Linked DNA regions of Homo sapiens: regions 1, 3 and 4 are each linked to region 2. The links are contacts of gene promoters, found by promoter capture Hi-C in human tissues and cell types (Jung and others, 2019). All regions are on one chromosome and are shown on one strand. Each heading gives the region's core, a stretch centred on a gene start or on the middle of the fragment in contact. The rest is flanking DNA. Distances are from core to core; before and after follow the strand shown.

Region 1 (2,700 bases), core at 147-2,646, 360 kb after region 2:
AGCCGGGCATGGTGGCAGGCACCTGTAGTCCCAGCTACTCGGGAGGCTGAGGCAGGAGAATGGCATGAACCCAGGAAGCGGAGCTTGCGGTAAGCCGAGATCAAGCCACTGCACTCCAGCCTGGGCAACAGAGCGAGACAGTCTCAAAAAAAAAAAAAAAAAAAAAAAAGTTATTGTTTCTTTTAAGCTTTCCTTTATTTCTTAAAATAAAATTTCCCCTCTGCTGTTCTCCTACAGAATTTTGCTCATCTTCATGTACATTAAGAGAAGTGTAAATGCATGAGTATGGTAGGTTTGCTCAAAATTAGGGACCACGTCTTGCTCATCTTAATGACTCCACAGCATTGAATGTCAGCATTTAGTATGTTTGCTAAGTGAGCTAATGACAAGACCAAAATCCAGAAATTACAAAAATACTGCTGCAATCTAGACCATTTTCTTTTCAATATATTCCAAATAATATGGATGGTTATTAGACACACTTGATGCATGACTTCTTAGTGTATAATATATAATACAGGAAGGTAAATTTCTTTCAAGAAGATAGCATTATTTTATTTCCTTTAATGGGAAGCAGATTTGAAATCTACCATAACCTGATGAACAATTATCATCAAGAAGTTCAAGCAAGGAAAGGAAGAACAATTCAGCATCAGTGATGCCAGCACCACAACTGTTGAATTTAAATGTTTACACAATGATTCTTCCAAATCTTCAGCTACTTTTAGGGCATTTGCAGTTAAATCATTCTGGCTCACATCCCAGTGAAGATCAGGATATAGCTGTGTTCAAATTTTAAGCATTTTACCCAAGGCATAAGGTTTTTTTTTTTAGTGATCATGGGGACAGCTTATTAATACAAGCCCTCAAAATTTCCTGCAAAAATATTTTTTTGCAATATGTTTCCCAAAACACTGGGGTAACTAGATAATGTGGGAGCCAAGATACGAACACATTCATTAGAAACATATAAACAAATATTTTGTATATTTTCTGTCTCTACTCTAAGGGGAAAAATGAGCTCAGAAAGTCCACCAATATAAAATACATTACCACTCACATACCTATAAAAATAAAATGACTTCACTGGAGAGATCACATTGAAATCATATTTGAAAGAAGGAAAGCATCTAGTTTTGCACAGGTAAAAGAGAAACATTTTCAAAGCAGGCACAAATAACATAAAGGATCAAAGATGTAGGGCCAGCAAGGTATGCTGAGAAAAGTCACACAAGTAGGTTAACATGGAGTGTTGTGGTGGCTTTAACACAAATCCTTAAGAAGAATAATAAAACATTTCGGAATATTCAGCAAAATTGTAATGGGTCTACTTTGATGCCTATGAAGGAAACACTGTACTCCATAAGCGTGTTAATTTTCCCTTTATCCCAGGAGCTCCTTGAGAACAGCACTGGTTAATTTTAGCAGAAGGTTCTGCAGACTCCTTTCCTTTTGCCCTGGTATCATTTATGGTGAGATCAGAATCTTGAGTGATGGGCTGTTCTGCTTTTGGAAATTAATATTGTTAGCTATATAATGATCACTAGAAAAAAAGATTTGAACTTTGCGTGCTTTTCCTGATCATAACACAAGAGTGTTTAGGCTATAATCAATTTCATCCCAAATATGTATTACCTTACACAGATGGCCACTAATGGGCACTAGGGGAATTACATATTCAGCAAGTGTTGAAATGCGATAAAATTCCCATGGCATTTATGGAATTCAAAAAAAAACTCCAAACACTAATTTTACTTTCTAAATGTCACCAAGCTAAATGTTATAAAGGCTTGAGGTTGATGACTCTTTGACATAATATAGATTTAGTTATCACTGAAAAAATCATAAAATAATGTTTATTCACCTAGTAAAGCCTCCAGTAATGTTTTCTCTTTCAGATGTTCCTAATGTATGCAGAATTTTTAAAAAGGCACATAAATGTAACATTTCTACTGTAAGTGAGGACAGAAAGCTTCATGTAGTTTGGTAAAATGTATTATGATAGCTTTAGAAATTATGATTTTTCCCCAATACATGTATATTTTGCTAAATAATGGAACCTCAAAGTGACCTATTTCCATATTAGCAAACATTATGTCAGTGCTTAGATGATGTCATTTTTTTTTAAAGTTTGTGATATGCTTCTAAATGAGAAAGATATAATAATCAAACTCGTATCAACCTAGGCTTCAGATTACAACATGGGCTATTTGGCAGAAATTTCCTTAAAGACAAAGTAATATTATTAAACCAAATTGTACCACTGGAGTAAATGTGGATAAATACTAGTAGGATTTATTTCCATATGAAATAAGATTATGACTAGGAAGATGTTGAAGAGGAAACCAGCATTTCACGGATAGAAAAATTGTACCAGGCACTGCTAAGTGCTTTACATTTAGTAATTCAGTTAATAGCTTTGGGGAGGTTGAGTAAATTGTCTAAGGTCAACTAGAGGTGCAGCTAAGCTATGACCGTAAGGACAAAACACCAAGAACTAATACATACCCAAGGAAGCAAATGGGATGTAAAACTGAGATTAGATGAAAATTAGAATTTTGTTCAAATCATCAGGTTTTTAAACTTTTGTGTCTGTTCTTGGTCTTCAATAATACTTCATTTCTATGAGAGGGTTTCAGCCTCAGGCCTGAGTCACCCGTCAGGTGTACCTATTTCCCTATTCCTACCTGCAGGCCTCAG
Region 2 (2,763 bases), core at 8-2,507:
CTGCCACAGCCGTGCTTCCCGGCGCGGGATCCAAGCCGCGGAGCCACCTGTTAGGCGCGCGCCGTCGGAAGCCCAGGCGCGGCGGCGCTGGAGAATCCTCTCGAAGTTTCCGGGTGCGCGGGGAGGCCCCAGGTGCGCCCCGACATCCCGACACGGCCCAGCACGGGTAAGTGTCGGCGGCCCCCCGCTTCTCCTTCCTGGGTCCCCTCCCGCTGCCCCCGGCCGTGGCGGGAAGGAAAGTTGTGCGGAGAGTTGGTACCTGCGCTGAGCTCCAGGCTGGCGCTGTCGCTACCCGTGCCGCCGGTGCCGGCGGCCGCCGCCGCGCCTGGGCCATACCTGACGACAGCGGCGAACGAAGACGACGAGGAGGCGGCGGGGGACGCGGGCGGCGGCTGCGCCGGAGTCCTCAAGTGGCCCTGGGATGTGGCGGGCGTGCAGGACGGCGACGACGACGAAGCGGCGGCGGCGGCCCGGCCGGGCCCGGGGGGGTAGGAGCTCTGCGCCTGGAACTGCTGCGGCGGCGGCTCGCTGCTGCTGATGGAGACGGCGGCGTGCGGCGCGAAGGGCGGCGGGGGCGGCGGGGGCGCCCGCACGTGCGGCAGCTCCACCAGGGTGGGTCGCTCGTAGCGCTTGGCCAGCGCCGGTCTCTTGCTGGGGAACGTCTTGAGGACGCTGTAGGGGCTGCGCTGCTTGTAGATTTTGGGGACGCTGGGCCCCTCCTCTGCCGGCTGCATCTCTTCCTCCATCCGGCGCCTCGGGGCCGGTCCCTCGGAGCACGTCCCCTCCCCGCCGGGCGCCGGGCTCCGAGGGTGCCTCCGCCGCCTGCCCGCCGGGTCTGCCCTGGTGCGCGCGTGTGGGAGGGTGTGTGTCTGTGCCGTGGCCGCCGCCGCCGCCGCCTGTCGCTGAGGCTGGCATCGCCGAGCCCCCGCGCGGGGGGCTGCCGCCCGAGCTCCTGATTGACAGGCTGCCTCGCCAATGCCTGGAGGGAGAAAGGAGGTAAAGAGCAAGTGTTTAGGGTAATATCTGCTAATGATAATGGGGGCGGGGCGGGGCCTGGCGCCGCAGCCGCCCGCGGGGTCTGCCTGGCGGCTCCGCGCCTCCGACGGGGAGCGGGGGAAGGGGGAAAGCGAGGACCTGGAGGACGCCCGGGAACTGGTGAAGAAGGTGGGGATCCGGGATCTGGCTACGGCGAGACTTTAGAGACCCAGATGTGGACTCGAGGCTTCTGCGGCTGCGGGCGGGGTCCGGCTTCCGAAACGAGCTCGTGGCGCCCCCTGCATGACCCCAAACTCTCGGGGTTGCACAGAGGAGGGGCTAGTCGTTGGGGCGGGGTCGTCAGAGTACGTGTGTATTACAGCAAGTTCTTCTACCAATCGGGAATTGCTCTCCGATCCTTCTGAAAAGAACCTCTTGAAGATCTTGGCCCGGGTGGTCGCGCGGTGTTTACGGGGCTTTGGGGTCCTGCTTTCCCCGAGCATCGCGGCCTCTGAGCTCATGCGGAACATAAAAGCTCGCAAGGCGTAGAACTTTTTCACGTTTTCATTTGTTTCCCGTAGGGGCCCCGAGAACGTGCATGACACCATGATTTCCCCCCCATTATAAAGATGAGAAAACCGAGGCTCTGAGAGGTTGAAGGGAATTGCCCAAAGTCAGACACTCGGGAGTGTGCGGCTGTGTTGCACTGACGCATCCAGGTTATTTGAAGTCAACTCCTCACTTCCCATAGCCAGTAGCCTCTGTGCAATTGAGTGGGGAAATGTCCTGATACCTCCCTTTGAGGTGATGATTACTTTCAACAGTGTCATTTTTAATATATGTATATGTACTTGCAAGCCCAGGGAAACACGAGAACTCACTCCTTGCATTGTTTTACTCACTGCAACTGGCGCCATCCGGCGAGGGTCTGGAGGGTGCCCAATTTCAGTAGCCGTTTGAATGAGAGATCTCAGTCGTTGGGAGGAAGATCCTCCATGGGATGCAGATGTCCTGGTCTCTCCCAGCCACTTTTTGGGGCAGAGGGTCCATTGCTCCCTATCCCAAATCACCCCTCTTCTAGGCCAACCAGCATACCCTGCCCCAGGTTTGCTTTTCAGCCTTCCTTTTTCGTTCTCCAGGTCAGAGTTCTGGATGCTCCTTGATGTAGGACCCTCATCTCTGCACTCTGAAGTTTGTTTCCTTTTCAGAGCCTTCCTTTTATTCTTAGGAAGGTGACCCATTTTCTTCTGGGGGTTCACATCTTTTGGCCTCTCTTTCCCTGGTCTCCTTCCCTTTGGAAGCTTTTTCTCTCTGCCTTGCTGGTTCAGCTTCTGTATTATTCCCCCCTAGATTGTCTCCCTCTCTCCTGCAGCTTCCTCAGATGGTGCTGTGTCCCCCCCCCAATCCATTTATTAGAGATGAAATAAATAATGCCATAAATATAAGTATTTGGGAGTCCAGGAACTGTCAGGGCTGATTAGGGCATAGAGGACATTTTCTTTCTCATTATGCAAAAGCATTTCATGGGGAAATAAAAGAGGTTTCATTGTAACTCATGCATGTCATATTTCAAGGAATTCAAGATATTAATCATATTTAACATTATTTGCAATGTTTCTCCCTGGCTTCTGAAAACTGCTAAATGAGGACACGTGGATCACTAGGAAAAGGAGACAAGCATGAGAGGGACAGTTAAGAAATAATGAAATGCTGGTGAAAGAGAAAGAGAATGAGATGCCAGGGAGATGTTTCTTAGGCACGTAAGTGAGAAATGGGGGAGCTACTTCT
Region 3 (2,700 bases), core at 75-2,574, 340 kb after region 2:
TCATAAGATTGGGTTACTATCTATTTTGTAGAGAGATTATAGTGATAAGATGTGCTAACTCCTTTATTTGTGAATAAAGTGCCCTGTCCAGTGCCTGGCATGAAGTGACATCCAGGAAAGGTTAGTTCTGCCCTTCCTCTGGTATCAGGTCTAACAAAGGTACTAACACGAAACGCGCCAGGTCCGGTGGCTCCCACCTGTAATCCCAATACTTTGGGAGGCCGAGGAAGGCAGATCACTTGAGGTCAGGAGTTTGAGACCAGCCTGGCCAACATGGTGAAACCCCTTCTCTACTAAAACAAAAAAATTAGCCGGGTGTGGTGGCACATGTCTGTAATCCCAGCTACTCAGGAGGCTGAGGCAGGAGAATTTCTTGAACCCAGGAGGCAGAGGTTGCAGTGAGCCAAGATCATGCCACAAAAAAAAAAAAAAAAAAAAAAAAAAGAGGTCAGGCTTGGTGGCTCATGTCTGTAATCCCAGCACTTTGGGAGGCCGAGGCGGGTGGATCACCTGAGGTCAGGAGTTCGACACCAGCCTGGCCAATATGGTGAAACTCTGTCTGTACTAAAAATACAAAAATTAACTGGATATGACATGACAGGTGCCTGTAATCCCAGCTACTTGGGAAGCTAAGGCACGAGAATCGCTTGAACCTGGGAGGTGAAGGTTGCAGTGAGCCGAGATCACGCCACTGCACTCCAGACTGGGCGACAGAGTGAGACTCCATCTCATGTGACTGGGATAATTTTAAGTTTTCTTATGAAATCTCCCAATGGCAATTTTATTTCAATTTACCTTTTGACTGCCAACATTCAATACTATCAGCTACTTCTGGAAACCTGTCTTCTCAATCTAGGAAAGATGGCATTATCTAGTCTCATGTGACATATAGCTCTTGGTACATGGTAGGAGGACAAATATTTATATAACTAACCACTGATTTTCTCTCTTAATTTCTGTCTCCAACCTGATAGAATTCTTAACTGAAAATAATTGGAAAGTTATAAACTGATGTGGCATTTCTCTTTTATTATCTGTATAGTTCTGCATAGGTGACCACATCAATGTATGTATTTGGTTTAAAATAATTAATTATAAAGACGACACCCAGGGTTTGTTTTGCTGACATGTTCTTCAGACACAACACCACTGAGTTCATTCTTAGGTTTTGTTTTTAAAGCAGAGAAATAAATGTTTACTGGGAGTAAAAAACAAAAACACCACCAGCACCTTACTTTAGTTTGCTAAGGCTCTACCTTTTAAAATCTACTATAAATTAATTTAAAATGTCAAATAAGAGGATATATATAAGAATCTTAAACTAACACATATTTTATTAGCTGTTTTGGTGGTTTGAGGCTCCACCTCATCATCATTTAAGACGTGAGGTATTTACAAATTTATGGTCAAATCATGTTTCATTCTGTCTCTACTCTTACACTCTCCAAATGTTCACACTTTAAAATTATGAATTAACGGAACATTCTAGAAACATTCTTAATAATACATTATGACCATATCAAGTATGGACAATGTTAGCACGTTCTTAAAGAGTGAGTTATGGCTCCCATAATAACATATGGATAAACCATTGGGTATTACTTGCTTTTCTACAATGTGTTATTGATTCAGTGGAACACTGGGCATTCCATATACTCCTACGCAACACATATATCAATACTCCTCCAGCTACTGCAGGTGGTAGTAAAAGAACGTATGCCTGAGAGTAGGGAGAAACTACATTTATGTACAACTGGCCCATTTAGTATTCATCCCAGTCAGGATCACTAGCTCTCTTTGACGTGGTTCCCCTGCAACCCCCTGACACATTATAAAATCAAAACTTATTTTAAAAAATTGTATTTATTGGTTTTTTTTTTTTGATGTAGTTTTTGATCAAAAAGCTTTGGTGTTTCCAAACTCGTAGCCTGTACTAGAACATAATGTTGAAAAACATATGTGTATAGAATCAAACCAATATAAAGTAATTTTTCCAAAACGGGTAAGGCAGACAGAAGGTGAAGTCATTAAAAACACATGGTCAAAGAGGTCCTCCAAACAGCTTAGAGGAAGGCGGCCCAACGAACGCATTTAATCAATATATATTGCTAAAGATAATGGGGAGAGGAAAAGAGAAAAAAAATTCCATGCTTTGCTAATACACAAATATAGGTTTCCCAGGACGGGGGTAGATATGGAATACTGTAATTGAGGAAGTGGTCCAATCTCCCAGAAGGGTCATGCCATCTGACAAAGGTCAAGGGTCACAAAATGGAGGCAGGTAGGAAGAGGAAGTTGTAGTGCTGGGTAAATTGCTCTTGGCCCCTCAACAGAGGTTTGAGATTTGGGATTATGATAGGTTCCATCAGGCAAATAAGTGCTTGCGAGGCATCTAGTCTCACTTAGGGTACAATGCAGAGAGAGGCAGCAAAGTGCTGAATCTGTGTCCAGTCTGTGTTTCAGCACGGGGGTGGGGACATGTAGCAAAGACAGACAAATCCAGGGAAAGGAAGGAAGAGTGGGATAAGGGATATAATTATATAATTTAAAGAGTTTTCTGGATAAAGGCTTTTACCAAAGCCCCCATGGTAATTATTTTAAACCACCACTGAAAGCCTCCTAAACACTTATTTTGACTTTGGTATTAAATATTCTCCAGTGGCAGCAGTGAATGCAGAAGCAAAGCACGCGGGGAGGAAC
Region 4 (2,700 bases), core at 78-2,577, 390 kb after region 2:
TTTTCAATGATGACTAGCAAACCACTGGCATCATGCTAAAAACTTAATTTATGCAGCAAAATTAAGCTAAAGAGCACAAATATTTTAATACTGTTGATGACATAGTTTAATAAGAACTGTCTGTCAAATGTACATCTTTCAATGCATTAGTAAAAAGAGATAGCAAATAACACTGAATGGAAGAAACTGCGACAGCATTACAAAGGATAGGACTCATTTGGACCATGAGTGTGTAAGCATCCTCCTCAGAACTGAGGGCAGAAGAGGACTACTCAAATGTCTGTATCTATTTGTTTTACCAGCTAAAAAACTGAGATGAGTTCAATATGCAGAAGCAGTCAGTTATGGTATCATAGTGTACAGTCAGGAGTTTCTTTCAGAGGTATTTAGAAATATTTCAGTTCCCGGCCTGGCACGGTGGCTCATGCCTGTAATTCTAGCACTTTGGGAGGCCGAGGCGGGCGGATCACAAGGTCAGGAGTTCGAGATCAGCCTGACCAACATGGTGAAACCCTGTCTCTACTAAAAATACAAAAATTAGCCAGGCATGGTATCACGTGCCTGTAATCCCAGCTACTCAGGAGGCTGAGGCAGAAGAATCGCTCGAACCCGGGAGGTGGAGGTTGCAGTGAACCGAGATTGCACCACTGCACTCCAGCCTGGGTGACAGGGCGAGACTCCGTCTCAAAAAAAAAAAAAAAAAAAAGGAATATTTAAGTTCCCTCTTTCTTTATCCATAATGCTCCTGGTATTACTACCCCAGTCTCTATCCCTGTACATCAGGAATACATTTAATTGGGCCTCCTTTGTAATGACACCTATACATTCTACGTTAGCCCTTCCTGATTCATGCCTCTTTTACTCCAGCTTTGATAATGTGGTCCCAAACTCATCAATGTCCTTGCTCTTCTCTTTTCCTGGTGAAACCTCCAAATATTGGGTGAATGAGAACTCTCTTTTGTGTTACATCAAAGTAGGTAGATGTTGCTGAAGAAAAGTTACCCGGCCATAGAGACTAGCAAATACATGATATACAACACCAACTGGGTGCTCCTTACTGCCCAGTAACCCAGCACATTCCAACAAGCTTGCTCTCTTGCACTGTGCAGGGCTACAGCACACCTTCTCCATTCTCCAAGTCTCCCGCGTTCCCTCCTCACCCCAGAAGCTTGACAAAAATTCACCTTGATAAAAACCTCAGATAAGAAATCCCTTTTTGCCCGGGTATGGTGGCTTACGCCTGTAATCCCAGCACTTTGGGAGGCTGAGGCAGGGGGATCATTTGAGGTCAGGAGTTCGAGACCAGCCTGGCCAACATGGTGAAACCCTATCTCTACTAAAAATTCAAAGATTAGCCAGGCATGGTGATGTGCACCTGCAATCCCAGCTACTTAGGAGGCTGAGGCATGAGAATAGCTTGAACCTGGGAGGCGGAGGTTGCAGTGAGCTGAGATCGAGCCACTGTACTGCAGGCTGGGTAACAGAGAGACACTCTGTCTCGGTTTGGGGGTGGGAAGAAATCCCTTTTCTTTCTGCCATTAAAACCTGCATATCTATGTGTGCACCATCTCCTCCATCTTTTTTCCTGATATGATGGAAGAAACATTTTCCTCTTATCAGAGGCCTTCCTTACACATGCCTGTGAACCTCCTCTCATCTCACTTTCTCAGTAACCTCGGTCCAAAGGTTATGCTGTTCTCCCCAGAATCTGCCTCTTCTCCTTCTGTAAGGATCCTGGTGATAAGCATTTAACATACTCTGTTCTCGCCCCGCAGCCATAAAAAATGATGAGTTCATGTCCTTTGTAGGGACATGGATGAAGCTGGAAACCATCATTCTCAGCAAACTATTGCAAGGACAAAAAACCAAACATCACATGTTCTCACTTACAGGTGGGAATTGAACAATGAGAACACATGGACACAGGAAGAGGAACATCACACACCGGGGACTGTTGTGGGGTGGGGGGAGGGGGGAGGGATAGCATTAGGAGATATACCCAAAGCTAAATGACGAGTTAATGGGTGCAGCACACCAACATGGCTCATGTATACATATGTAACAAACCTGCACGTTGTGCACCTGTACCCTAAAACTTAAAGTATAATAAAAAAAAAAAAAACAAAAAAACTCACCCGATGCAACCACTCCTCCATTAAGCCACATCCCTTTTCAACTCTTTCACATTTCACCTTCTCTAAACCATCACTCATCTATCCCCTTCATTCCCAGTCTTTTCCTTTTTCTTCTCTCCTCACCATTACAATGAATAGCTACATTCAACAAATACTTCTCAAACTTCTTACCTAACCTTGCAGCAGTCTCCGACACAGATGACCACTCTCTCTTTGAATCCTCTTCTCCTGGCTCTGTGCTATGACCCTCTCTCTGTCCTCTACATCTTTAACAACAAGGTTGTCTCTTTTGCTGATTCCTCTTTTTCTAATCAACCCTTACCCTCATGGCTTAATCTTCAGCCTTCCATTTCCCCCTCATTTTATATCTTCTCTTCAGGAGATCCCATTCAGTTTTATGACTTCAAATACCACTTACCAACCACTGACTGCCAAATTGCTATTTCAGCCATAGATTTCTCTTTTGTTTCAGGCCCTTATATTCAACTGCTTGCCTGATAGCTCTGCTTGTATGTCTCACAGTCATCTAAAACCTAAGACTTCAAACATTTCAACCTCCACATCT

Evidence for each region. The method cuts DNA at HindIII sites, captures the fragments that hold promoters and counts their contacts. A contact is called where the count stands out against the background at its distance.
Region 1: a fragment that was not itself captured here is called in contact with the fragment with the promoter of BEND4 in region 2 in 1 of the 25 tissues and cell types used here (H1 embryonic stem cells).
Region 3: a contact is called between a fragment that was not itself captured here and the fragment with the promoter of BEND4 in region 2, in 1 of the 25 tissues and cell types used here (mesendoderm cells).
Region 4: a contact is called between a fragment that was not itself captured here and the fragment with the promoter of BEND4 in region 2, in 2 of the 25 tissues and cell types used here (IMR-90 fibroblasts and lymphoblastoid cells).

The regions. Positions count from the first base shown.
Region 1 is chr4:42,509,705-42,512,404 of GRCh38, forward strand. All of the region lies in intron 22 of ATP8A1 (ATPase phospholipid transporting 8A1), which reads right to left. Among named protein-coding and RNA genes, the nearest start is that of SHISA3, 110 kb to the left of the region's middle. The HindIII fragment of the contact is 3,385 bases long and covers 1-2,700 here.
Region 2 is chr4:42,151,398-42,154,160 of GRCh38, forward strand. It overlaps BEND4 (BEN domain containing 4), which reads right to left and starts at 1,258. Exons shown (of 6, transcript NM_207406.4): 1 at 1,135-1,258; 2 at 260-979. The coding sequence starts at 746. RefSeq lists an enhancer at 1-575 and silencers at 341-430, 631-950. The HindIII fragment of the contact is 6,033 bases long and covers 1-2,763 here.
Region 3 is chr4:42,493,745-42,496,444 of GRCh38, forward strand. The region is part of intron 24 of ATP8A1 (ATPase phospholipid transporting 8A1); the gene reads right to left. Among named protein-coding and RNA genes, the nearest start is that of SHISA3, 98 kb to the left of the region's middle. The HindIII fragment of the contact is 4,724 bases long and covers 1-2,700 here.
Region 4 is chr4:42,544,474-42,547,173 of GRCh38, forward strand. The region is part of intron 19 of ATP8A1 (ATPase phospholipid transporting 8A1); the gene reads right to left. Among named protein-coding and RNA genes, the nearest start is that of ATP8A1, 110 kb to the right of the region's middle. The HindIII fragment of the contact is 3,737 bases long and covers 1-2,700 here.